2 separate regions of the Homo sapiens genome follow, and region 2 is linked to region 1. Evidence: promoter capture Hi-C in human tissues and cell types (Jung and others, 2019). All regions are on one chromosome and are shown on one strand. The core of a region is centred on a gene start or on the middle of the fragment in contact, and the rest is flanking DNA. Distances in the headings are between cores, read along the strand shown. Region 1 holds the start of ITGA2 (integrin subunit alpha 2). Region 2 overlaps ITGA1 (integrin subunit alpha 1).

Region 1 (6,408 bases), core at 1,525-4,024:
AAGAAAGCAGAGGTTTCTGGTTTGGGTGATTGTCTATATGAAAACGGGATAAACAAAGGAGGGCAGGGCATGACGATACAACAGATCAGAAGGAAACACTGGGGAAACTTATCTGAGCCGTGTTCCCCAACAAAACTCTGTCTTGAGCTAAGGAAAAGAAAAAGAGGGGAAGGCCTCACTTCACCCCTGAGTGCTTTTTGGAGTAGGGTCTCTGGGTCTCTCAAGATCCTTTCAAGTGGCCAGTGAAGTCAAAACTATTTTCATAACAATACTGAGACGTTACTGCGTTTTTCACTGTGTTGACATTTGCCCTCATGGTGCAAGAACAAGGATGGGGACTGGTGGTCATTGTATTCTTCATCACTGGGCACTCACAGGAAGAGAAAGGGAGAGGGACACGGAGAGGCCAGCAGATCAATGAATTTTAATGCCACGGAATAGGAAAAACCATTGATATGGTTTCAGATTCCACATTGCAACTTTAAGAAACTACCACTTGTTGAGTTTTGGTGTAGTATCAGGGGATTATCCAGAATTATCTCCTGTTTTTCTAAGTCCATATCTGTGTAACACCAGATTAATCAATATAATTTCACCAAAACTACATGCCGTAACAGATTGGATGCAGAAGCAGATCTGAGAATCCAAATGTCTGTTTTTAAGCCAGATATTTAAAATATTAGCAAAAATGTAAAGCAATGCCACTCTTCTCCCGGATTCTTTCATTTGGAGAAATATAGTTATTTTTCATAAAATGTACATTATTTATGTTCACACATAATAGGATTTTTGTTAAAGGACTTACTGAGTAAAGGGCTCTTGAGACCAAAGAGTTTGAGAAGCCCCAGCTTAACCTTCCATATTTCCTGCTCTGAATGTGGTGTCCCTCACAACTGCAACTAGGCAGGAGAGCACCCTGGAAGGGGTTCTCAAACTACTTTGTCTCAGGAACACTTTATCCTCTTAAAATTAATGTGAGGCAGGAGTTTGTTCTTTGTTTCTAAAAGTTTTGCCTGGCTCTGGAAAATCGTAGCTCCTGACTTATTCTGCACTTCATGACAGTGTAATGTTAATTTGTCCAGTTCTGAGAACAAAAACCAAGAAGGATGCATGTTATTTCCCCCCACCCCCAGAGATAAAACACAAATTCCTGTCTCACATTAAAGGAAGTGTCCTGCCTCCCAAACACAGGTCTGTTCCAAACACTTACTCACATTTCAGTGAGTCAGAAGGAAACAGACAGATATTCATCTCCCTGAAACCTGGCTGACTTCCTTCAAAAAGTCTGTAAGGAGCGTCAAAATCGTGTCACCGGTTAGTGAGCAGCCACCTAAGAGCTCTCAGGTGATAGCCGGAGTTTTAGTAAGCAGGTGAGTACCCCAGACAATTCAGAAAAAAATGCCTTCAGGTGTTTGTCAAGGTGAGTAAGTGCAGCCAGTAAGTGACTGATAAGAAAACAGGAAAGAGCCTGGGACTATATAATTTGGGTTCAAAGGGTATTAGTCATAAGCCATCAGCAGCAACATCTGATGCATACCAATTTAATACTTTAACAATGTGACACATCAGCCCTATCTATAGTAAAGAGAAGAGCTTGATTTTTATGAATTATTAAGTCCTTCCCACCTTGAGCCACTTTGCTTCCTAGAGGCAGTATCTCAGGCATCCCATTCAGCTCATAGTAGCATTCCATGAAGATCTGGAATGATGACAATAATGATGATTATTAGACTCATAACTCCTTAAGCTTGATTTATGAAAACAGTTCGTTCCTTCACAAAAGTAGTCACTGGAAGAATTCTGGTTTCAGCAATGTGCTGGAAATTTGTGGCCAAACTTTTGGATAAAACATAAGATTCAGACAAGAAAAATTAATATCCTATTTCTTAGGTTTTTAACTAAAAATCTCGGATATAGAATGTTCTCTTTCCAGATGTGAGACTGAAATAATGGAAGAAAATGGTCACAGTCTATGTCATGGTGTAATGTAGACAGGGAGAGTCACAAGTGCATGTATGGGCTCTCAGCCTTTTCTCTGGCCTTGAAGTTAATCTCCTAAACTCAGTCATTAAATCAGCTCTTAATTATCTCGGAGGAGAGGAAGTAATGATGATTTCTCTCTCTCTGTCTCTCTGTCACACACACACACACACACACAGCTCTTGCAGCAGGTATTGCTTAAATATCACCTTGGATAATCATAACTTGTGAGCAGATCTTCTTTCCTGATGAGTTAGTTTCTAACCTGGTCATTCTGCGCTTATTTTTGTCCCTTTCTCCACCCACTTAGGAAAAACAGAGAAAGGGACGCACCGCGCAGCCCCTAGGCACTGTGGTTTAGGGCTAGTGCCCTCGGCACCCGCTGCCAGGAGCCGGGCGCTGCCAAGGGCTGCGGAGGGGCCACGTTCTCCCGGGGACTGGGGCATCTCCTGCGTGCTGGCGACAGGCTGCGGGGGCGGAGTGGTGCCAGGGCGGGCGCTCGCCCGTCGGATATGCCCACCCGTCCCGTCCAGGGCAGGAAAGCCTGCCAGGGCGCCATCCCCATCCCCACCGCCTCCAGGCTGCCGGGGCTGGGCCGCTGTACGGGAGCCAAGGTGCGGTGCCCCGCGTGTGGACGAGCCGAGGTGCAGCCCGCGGGGCCGCAGGGCCGGGGTGGGGCGGGGCGCGGCCGGAGCAGATCCGGTGTTTGCGGAATCAGGAGGGGCGGGCTGGGGCGGGCCCTCGGCGCTGCAGGAGCTGCCCAGAAACTTTTCCCTGCTCTCACCGGGCGGGGGAGAGAAGCCCTCTGGACAGCTTCTAGAGTGTGCAGGTTCTCGTATCCCTCGGCCAAGGGTATCCTCTGCAAACCTCTGCAAACCCAGCGCAACTACGGTCCCCCGGTCAGACCCAGGATGGGGCCAGAACGGACAGGGGCCGCGCCGCTGCCGCTGCTGCTGGTGTTAGCGCTCAGTCAAGGTAAGCGGGGATTTCGCTCTGCATCGGCTGCAGGAGGGACCCGCGCGGCTTCCTGGGGCTCGCTGGAGGGATTGGGCGGAACTAGGGAGCGAGCTCCGTGTGTTCCCTCGGATTCCACGTGGACTCGGGCTCCCAGCCACCAGGACCTGCTTGGAAAGAGATACTTCTTCGTTCCCTTCCTGCTATCCCAGGCCTTGCGTCCCCATTAGGCGCGTCTCGCCCTGTCTGTTAAGCACCCTCCAAAGTCATCTCAGTGAGTGCTTTGTTTTAGGTACACACACGCACACACACACACACACACACAGACAGACACGCACGCACTCAAGCATGGACAGTGTGGGGATCCGCGGGTGTCCTGGAGACCGCGAGTCCTGCAGCCCAACTTCCCCTGGCTCAGACAGGTGCCGCGCCTGCCAGAGACCAGGGAAATCCGGAATCCATTGCTGATGGCGGCCTGCAGCTCCCCAGCGCGGTGCTTGCTGGCTTTGCAGAAGCCTGCGAGCCCCAAAATGCTTATTTTTCAACCCAAGGATGTGAATAATGCCTCTATTTCTTACTTGAGGACGAAGCGCTGTGTTTCTTCCCGGGGGGACTTGGAATAAACCAAGCGCCACTTAAATACTTGGCAGAGGGGAATTCTTCCTTCCCTTCTGCCTTCCTCTTATTGTTGTAACATTGTCTATTCGACGAATGTAAACTTAGGCTAGGAAAAGTTCTTTTCACTTCTGGATCCTAGATGCCGCAATGAGAGAATAAGCCGGAGCAGCCGCTCTAACTGTAGTGCTGTGGCAGTGGGGCCCGCCCACCTCCTGAGTTCTTTTACACTAAGAGGAGGAAATAAGGCTGGGGTGGAGAGCTTTTGTGGGACCATCGCCTGAGTACTTTTTCCCTGACCATTAGGCAGAGCTAGAGTGTGGTCAAATTTAAGAATTTTAGTTTATTTGGAGGGAGAAGGAGACACGTTTGTATAATGTAGTTTGAACAGCGATCAAAACAAAACAAAAAAGTTGTCTCTGATTTTAAAGTGTGTGTGTGGTTTTTTTTTTTTTTTTTTACAAAGAAGATAAATATTTCCTAAGCTGTCCTCCTTTGAGACTGACATTCAGCCACTTGCTATTCTTTATTGTGGAGGAATGAATCCTAGTCCACGTCAACCTGGTGGCATTTTCTCCAGGTCAGAGATAAGAGAGAAATAGCACCACTGTCCCCAGCCCGAGCAGAGAATGGGCATCTTAGGTTTTCTGTCTCACCTGTATTGGGTGCTTCAGATACTTTCTCCGGGAACCAGATGAGTTGTTTTGAGGGGCCACCAACCCTAATCTACGGATTTCAGGTAAAGTTGTACTTGACATTGAAAATGAGTCTCTGGAATACAACTAGAGCTAATAGAAATATAAACCCAAGCTTTTCATCTCTCTGTAATTACCCAGTATTAAAATAAGCTGTGGAAACATAACATCATTTTCTTATCTTTGAAATGTTGAGGCTTGTTATGTAAAGAGCAGTGAGAAATTCTTTAATGGAATGTAACGCTGCAAGGCATGAAGTCAGGAACAGAGACTTAACCTGGAGTTAATAAGGACACCTCAGGGCAAGCAAGCAGAGATGATCGAAAATAACATCTGCAAAAGTTTTGTGCATTTATTCCCTCCTCCTACTCCAGCCATTTGTATACTCAAGGAACAGGTTTTCTCTTAATTTAAGATCCTCATAAGAAAGCTCTCTCATTTGTGATATCACTTGAGGTTCCTGGAGAAGCAGCATCGTTTTTTGGTACCATGAGTATCCCAGGTTAACATGAATAAGTGAAATCTCTAGCTCAGTAGTATCTAAAATTTTGTATGGCATTACCCTATCTGTATAAAATTTCTCATTCACTATCATTACACACACACACACACATAACTGTTATAAAATTATAGTATGTACAATTGCATCATATCACATACAAAAATTCAAATTTAAAAGCTATGTATGTGACAGAGCTTCATTATGATGATCTTAAATTAAGAGAAAACCTGTTCCTTGAGTATACAATATGCCGTGTTATGTATATACAATTGTATATACATATATATACCTGTTAATATGTATAAAACACATGTGTGTTTAGACATCTTGTATCATCTCTAGCATACATGCAAACCACTTTAAAAACATATCACCTTCAAATCTTATTTTAACACTTACATTCAAATTTGCTTTCCAGAAACCTTTTCACAGGTGCTTAAGAAGAAAATGTACTCATAGTTTAGTCCTATATTTATCACCTTTCAGTGCTCATTTCTAAGTGCTTAATACCATGAAAATGGTAAATGGGCAGTCTGAGGATGAAAAAGAGAGAACATAAGAGGCCTAGATAATCTATAAACTAAATATAGGCCATTAGCAGAAGGCAAATGTAATTTTGAAATGAAGGCCATCACGTATTTTCTCCAGTATGTTCACAGGTCAAGGATAGTCCTTCCACCCAGGTTCTAGACCACATCTTTTCTTACTATCCCTGAAACCCTGCCCCAGCACTCATCCCTCTTCAGTGCACGTCTTCAAATTCTCTCCCTAATGTAACTTCCCCTCAGTCTGTAAATATTCTAATTTTTCTTATTGTAAAAAAAATATTTCTTTTGATATTTAATTTCCTCCTGAAACATCCTGTACTTCTGGCTTCTGTTCTCTTCCTGTTTTTCTCCTCCTTTCCTCGCTGCTCTCCCGTCATCTCCTTCACAGGCTCTTTCCTTGTTGGTGTTTGCAGAGTTTCATCCTGAATCCTCCTCTTCATTCTGCAGATTGTCTCTGGGCCCATTCCCTGCACAGGTCCCTATCTCCAGCCAGCCTCCCCTTCTGAGTTCCAGATCAGTATTTCCATCAGCCACCAAATTTCTCCAGCTAGACAGTCTGTAAGTAAGCCAGATTCAACATTTCCAAAACTGAATTTAATACGTGTCCTCCAGAATTTTCTCCTCTATTGGCTACCATTGTTTAATGGCAGTATTATTATCACACAAACATGAAAGCCAGGAATTTGTCCCCATGTTTTCAACCTCACAGCCACTCTCCAAATTCTCTTGGCTCTCCTCCCATCCATGCAACTCCTGCCACCCAGTCAGTCCCTCATCTTATGTCTGTATGTAACTTTTAAACTGGATTTTCTTTTCTTATCTCTCCAACCCATTCTCTTCATTTTCACTAATGATATCTTTCTAAGACACTTATATGTTTCCAATTACTGCTTTGTTTCAAATGTTAGTGGCTCCCCATCTCAGGTAGGGTAAAGTGCCAATTTCTTGGCATGTCATAAAAAGGTACATTCTACCTATCCAATCTTTTCTTTACTGTATGCTTTCCTGAACACAAATACACATTCACACACACACACCACACACATGCCCACACATGTACACACTCTAAAGCCATCTATATACACCATTCTTTGTTATGACTACACCTGATCAT
Region 2 (6,408 bases), core at 685-3,184, 180 kb before region 1:
TGGTTAAATTTACTAAAAGATTTTTTCAGGATTCCCATAGTGCAGGAATTAGCAAGCTATATCTCATTCAGGCCAATCAGTTACTGCTAGCGGACCCCATGGCCTTGTGCTCCCCATCTTAACATAGTATCTCTGATTTGTCTCACCAGACAAATCAGAGATACACTTCCCCTTTTATTCCGTGAGGAACCACAAGAGTCTGAACTGTGGCATCAATTTTGCAGTTGGATTTACATCTTTCTTAATGATTTGAAAATAATTTGTTTCAAAAATTGATTTTGACCAGCACACAATTTTGCTGGTATATCATGTTTAAGTAAATGAATTCTCCAGCAGTGAAGCACAACTAAAGTGAAGAGCTGAAGAGCAACTTAAGAAAGAACAATTAATTCCAATAAAGTTGGTAAAATGCTCAGTAAAATAATTTTCTTCCAATGGATGTCAGCATATTTAAACTTTGTGGTGTGATTCAGTTTATATACTCTAAGAGATTCAGTATTTTAGAAAAGTGCTCTTCAAGATTTTCCTAATGTATTATATGTATCTCTCATGAATTGAATTGATTTAGAAATTTAGTGTAAAAGTGTTACACACAGCCAACATGATTTATAAAGGATCTAGGATGCAATTATAATATTTTTGTGAATCAATTATGCCTTTTTAGGAAAAGATTTAGAAGTTAAAAATGCAGCTAATGAAGCTGTTAGAAAATAAAACCTGTATTAGTAGTCTTGGATTTAACAAGGAGAACAATCAGGAGTTGCTAAATATGGTCATCAAGTAGTAAACTTCACGTAGAAATAAAAAAATTGACCAAGTTCAGTAAAGAGATATTTATTTAGGTTAAAAATACCATTCAAAAACATTGGGAGAAGGTATTTATTAATGGAGATACCTTCTTCAGTGGCGATGATAAAGTCTCATTCATTGTTTTTCTTTATATAGTAAGAATTAGTCCTTTTTAGGAAGTGTGTGATATATATCACCATCTGTATTCTCATCCACATGTTACACTATTATTTCTAAATTTCCAAGAATAATCTGTAAAATAACTATTTTGCAGTATTTAATATCTCTATTTTCAGTAACATGTTATTATATTGTGTTGAGATAAATAACACTGATTAATAAATTGGAATATTATGAATGTTTTAATTTAAATTGAGAAATGAATGAGTTTCTGTAAGGACAAACACCTTTGTGTGTAGTATTATAGTTGCATACAAATTTGAGGCTACAGTGTTTGCTTTTTACAATGAATATTTTAACTCTATAATAATTGACATTGATATGGGAAGGTCTTAAATTTTCAGATTTCAGTGCTAAGGATGATAACATTTATGATAAATTGTGGAGACTTGGATATCAGTCTTCTTTTAAATTTCCTTTCTTTATTTCCTAAAATTGCCTACATTAAAACCCCATTCTTTAGAATGTTAGTTCAATGGAAGTGCCTGTTTTCTATAATGTCAGAGATTTAAGGAATTTAAAGCTTATTTCTATTTGGGTGCCACATTTGTTTTCAAAACACCCAATACTGAGGCAAGAGCAGTATTTGCCAAGTAGCAAATTCAAGAGCAAAATGTTTTGGCAGTCATATTGCCTGGCTTTGCCCAGGGTTGGTACCACTGTCCCCACTCCAGGAATGGACAACCTGTTATAACAAAAGTAACTGTGTGCTTATTAAGTGTCAGGTCTTATGGTAAGTGCTTTAAAATGCATTAGTCTTTCAAGAACCCAGTCAGAAGGGTTTTGTCATTACTATTTTCTGATGCAAAAAAAATGAAATTAAAGAAGATTAAATAATTTATCCAAAATAACAGTTAGTGGGTGTGATGAGGTGCTCCCTCAGCTATCACCCTAAAAAATCTAAGAATGCCAGTTCTTCTCAGCTTTCAGTTTGGAGTAGGCAAACATGTATCTAAAAATAAAAATAAATTATTTGATGACACTAAATTTTATATAATCAGCCAAAGTTTATGCAATCATTTTTAATGTTTTTATTCTATTATTTTGTCATCTTATGAAAAATCAGGAACTCAATTCTGTGGTCCTCTAATCTACCTGGATCATAGTGGAGAATTAGAAAGCAGAGAAAATGTGGCAAATCTATGTATTAAAGCAATCCCCTCAAGCACTATCCAGCATTCATTTATTGTTATTTCACACCTAGTTTCAGCAAGCTTTTTTTGTTGCTTAATTTTAAACCTACAATTAAGTCATGCACTATTACAATAAACTTTTTTTTAATGACTCACCTTAAGTAGCTAGAACTATGCTACCCCTGGGTATGCAAGGATGAATTAAGACAGTTTTCCCTGCCTTTAATCTAGAAATTAGATATCAGCAGGAGATGACCACAAGTGGCCAAGTTGACAGAATTGACAGCAGTTAAAAGTGACAGCTGATAGTGGGAGTGGATTCTGAAACACTGTCAAAAGAAAAAAAGCCTAGAGTATTATAGAGTATTTCACTGGGACTTGAGGATGTTACTGAGGACAATACCAGTACCTGGTATTCACACTGAGGAAAAGATTAAATTACATTCAGTGTATTCTGTTAAAGAAGTCAAATAAATGTAATGTCTTTCAATGATTTTCATCCAAAAATAGTGGTACTTTAAAAAATCTTTAGCTGTCATACCTAGAATGACTGTTCCAGATAACCAGAGTTTTACTATGCCTTAATAGTCTCAGTAATAAAACTCAAATAATTGTTGAAGGATGAATTTTTGTTAAGGAAAAAAATCCCAATAGATTTTAGTTGTACAATTTATTCAGAGATAGGAGGTCCTTCTGAGTTCAAGTCTACGTTCCAGAAGTTTTATGTCTGGAATTTTTCATCAAGTCCTAGTGTAAACATTGACTAGAACTTTTTGTTTGACACCATTGTGAAAAATTGCTCTGTGGATAGAAAACATTTTAATCTTGTGTTTCAGCTCATTTGATCTGATGACCATAATTTATAGTTTATTTTTCCTCCCCAAGTGTGTTGTTGACTATGGTATAATTCTTTTTTTCTTTTTCTTTCTTTCTTTCTTTTTTTTTTTTTTTTTTTTTGTTTGATGAGTTTGAAGAGGAAGCTTAAAATACATTTCAGTACATGGCTCTGAATCACTTAAAATCATAAGAGGTTAAAGCTGTAAGGAACTTTATATATCATCGGACCTAGTTCCTTCATGTTACAGATTTAAGCCAGCCCAGAGAGGGTTGGTAACTTGCTCAAACACAATAGGAGTTTTTCACAGGGTCCACATTCCTGTTTGATATATCTGATTCCAATGTCACCTACTTTTTGTCACCTATTCATATTGAGTCATTTGGGGTAGAGGAACAAGGAACAATGCAGGATTCAAAAATGCCTTAAACCCTCCTTATTTATCAAATTATCATCTTGTGGCAAGGCAGTTTTTCTCTGAGCAGCATTGCTGAGACTCAAACTCAGTTTTGAAGTCTTGTTCATTCCTTGGAGGAGTATTTATATTTCCCTATAGGGAACTCTTCCTGCCTTTCTTCTTCTGAGAACCATTTCATTTTTCTGAAAATCATGTACTAAGTACCTACTATGTGACAGGGACTCTAATAGCCCCCAGTGATCAGAAGTAAAGAAAGATCACAGTCTCTTCCTTGCAAAAAAACACAGTCTACAATGGGGAACGAATGGTAAAGCAGTAGTAATAGCAGTGCAATCTGGCACAGGAACATGGGAGCTCAGAGGGCTAACTCAGCCTGGCTTTAGTGAGGAGGTATTCCCAGAGTTTAAACTGGCAAGTTCCAGAAGCCCACACTGATCTTCCATTAGTTTCTAGAGAGATCAGGTGAAGGGACCTGAGATTATTCCTCTTTTAAGGCCTCTCAACTTTACTTTTTTTTTTTTTTTTTTTGGAGACAAGAGTCTTGCTCTATACCCCAGGCTGGAGTGCAGTGGCCTGATCTTGGCTCACTGCCCCTCTGCCTCCTGGGTTCAAGCAATTCTCGTGCCTCACCCTCCCCAGTAGCTGGGGATTACAGGTGCGTGCCACCACACCCAGCTAATTGTCATATTTTTAGTAGAGACGGGGTTTCACCATGTTGGCCAGGTTGGTCTCAAACTCCTGACCTCAAGTGATCTGCCCATCTTGTCCTCCCCAAGTGGGATTACAGGCGTGAGTCACTGCACCTGGCCTCAACTTCACTTTGGTAATATTTTTCTTCTACAGAGTGGTCTCTGTAATCCCTGATCTCTCTAAATGTTAAATATTTACTGTGGAGTCAACAAACCTGAGAGGAGACATCATGGAGAAGGAGATTCCATTACCTCCTACCCTCATAAGAAAATGAAAATCAAATACAGACCAGGGACCATGACTGAAAGGACTCTGAAAGATTGTGGAACCTTTGTATAATAGTATCCATGTTTTTGTTGTCTCCTCTGCATTTCTTACATGACTAAGCACTGACTGGTTAAACCAGAAAAGGAAGCTTAGCTTCTTTCGTTTTTAGGACAGCAAAGATGGGGATGGTGACAGGGGAGTTTGAGACATTCTGTCCCTTTCCATAGCCATTCCTGGAAGAAAGAATGTCCAGGATTAACTGGTTGGTGGCACAGCCACCTCAGGGAAAGGGAAACTGACCCCTGGGGACTGAAGTCAGGAATAAAGAAGTGACAAGGAGCTAGCTGGGGCCTGGGGAAGGCCCTGGGGCTGGACACTAGAAAGACCCACCGGGGTCTTTTCTATTTTTATATTCAACATTTTATCTTTCGTTGTAAAACTCAGGAAAACACCTTTAACAAACAAAAATAACTTCTCTCTTAAGTTGTTCATTTTACTAAATGGCCAACATGGATTGGATATGGTAGAAGGAAAGAACATTTTCTGCAGAAGGGAGAAAAAAACCACAATCTATTTTATGAGGAGGAATGAACTCTGGGAATAGTTCTCTGACCCTTTGTGTGTCAGTGTGTTCTCAGCCTGAACTGGAAGAAAATGGGATAGCATGTGGAATGTGGGAAAGTGCGAAGACTGATGCAAAATTCACTATCTGCCTCATTAAATACACTAGTAGGTTTTCAAGAGAATGAGTCTGTTATCACCACAGTAAATTTCTCACTCTGGGCCTAACTCCTTATCTAAAACTTAATAGAGCTTAATAAGTTCAAATTTTTCCTGTCTTTCTGGGAATCATTTTCACCTTTATCTCTGATCCTGTACTTTCCCTAGGTCAGAGTAAAATATAATGGGAAACGGGCAAGTAGGTAGGAAATGTGGAGAAGGTCAAGGCCTTTTTATAATGGTTCATTGTAAATTTAAAATTCTTAGATATGTATTTCATACAGATTCACATATGTTCTTCTGGATGAATTAGAAATTTTAATTGTGAGGATCAATAAAGTAGCGCAACCAGCTTTCACATCTGTATGAAATTTAGGACTTTGCAAAGGATGTTGCACACCAAAAATTACAAAATAATTCAACGATTATTTGCTACAGTTACCAAAGATTATAATATTAACATTTGCAAGAACATTGCATTTGTGAATAACCAAGTATGATACAAGGAAGAAATCATCCATGTCATTCTCAGAGGATATGGTGTAAGAACTGGCCCATGACTCATGACACCAGGCCCTGCCACTAGGTTGTGTGACTTGAGGAAATAATTTCATCTTTTTGAGAGTTGGTTTCTTCATCTGCAGAATGAGCAAAGAAGGGTGGCTCTTGACTTCATAATCTCTCTTGCAGATATCTGATTCTACTTGGTGCAGTAACAATAATTGCTTGTTATTTTTGCGATCATGTCTTTCCAGTAAAATAAATCTTTAGTGACTCTCAGGTTTAAAAAGAATCTTTTTTGCACCCTATTTTAAAAGCTGCCAGATTTGGGGTTTGGCTGACTACTAAGGAGAGCAGCCTGCTAGAAGGAGCAAATTCCAGAGCTGAGGGTCATTTATTTGGAATGCTTTGCCAAACACTCCCCTATTTTTAAAGTTGTTGGGGGACTTTAAACTTGAATATAGGGTGGTAGGACAATTGTTTGAACCACTCTGTAAATACGTGCATGAAAATCTTGAGGTTTACAAATATTTTTTAATAGTTTGCCACATTTCAATGGCATGTCAAGTTGCAGGGTCCTGCCACTTTTCTTCTTGTTATTTTCCTCTTCTATCAACTTTGCTCACTCTCCCAAAGAAATAGGCAATGAGAAAAAACAGGTCTTAATTTTTACTGGAATGCTCTTTCCATTTGGCTAGAGGTTTCTCAAACCAGGCGGCACCAATCACCTAGGGAGTTTTAAAATCATGGTGATGCCTGAGCCCTACCTCAACTAAGTCAGAATATTTGGGAAAGGAGCCCAGGCATCTGTACATTTTAAAAGCTCCTCAGGTGCTTCTTATCTGCAGCCAGGTTAAACCAGGAGTGTCATCACT

What was found. Contacts are between HindIII fragments. The study calls those that stand out against the background at their distance.
Region 2: a fragment that was not itself captured here is called in contact with the fragment with the promoter of ITGA2 in region 1 in 1 of the 25 tissues and cell types used here (hippocampus).

What each region holds. Positions count from the first base shown.
Region 1 is chr5:52,986,578-52,992,985 of GRCh38, forward strand. ITGA2 (integrin subunit alpha 2) reads left to right here and starts at 2,775. Exons shown (of 30, transcript NM_002203.4): 1 at 2,775-2,955. The coding sequence starts at 2,892. ITGA2-AS1 (ITGA2 antisense RNA 1) reads right to left here and starts at 3,709. Exons shown (of 4, transcript NR_186583.1): 1 at 3,513-3,709; 2 at 1,627-1,699. RefSeq lists an enhancer at 915-2,114 and a silencer at 2,579-2,728. The HindIII fragment of the contact is 5,063 bases long and covers 408-5,470 here.
Region 2 is chr5:52,805,639-52,812,046 of GRCh38, forward strand. All of the region lies in intron 1 of ITGA1 (integrin subunit alpha 1), which reads left to right. Among named protein-coding and RNA genes, the nearest start is that of PELO-AS1, 8.0 kb to the left of the region's middle. The HindIII fragment of the contact is 3,674 bases long and covers 98-3,771 here.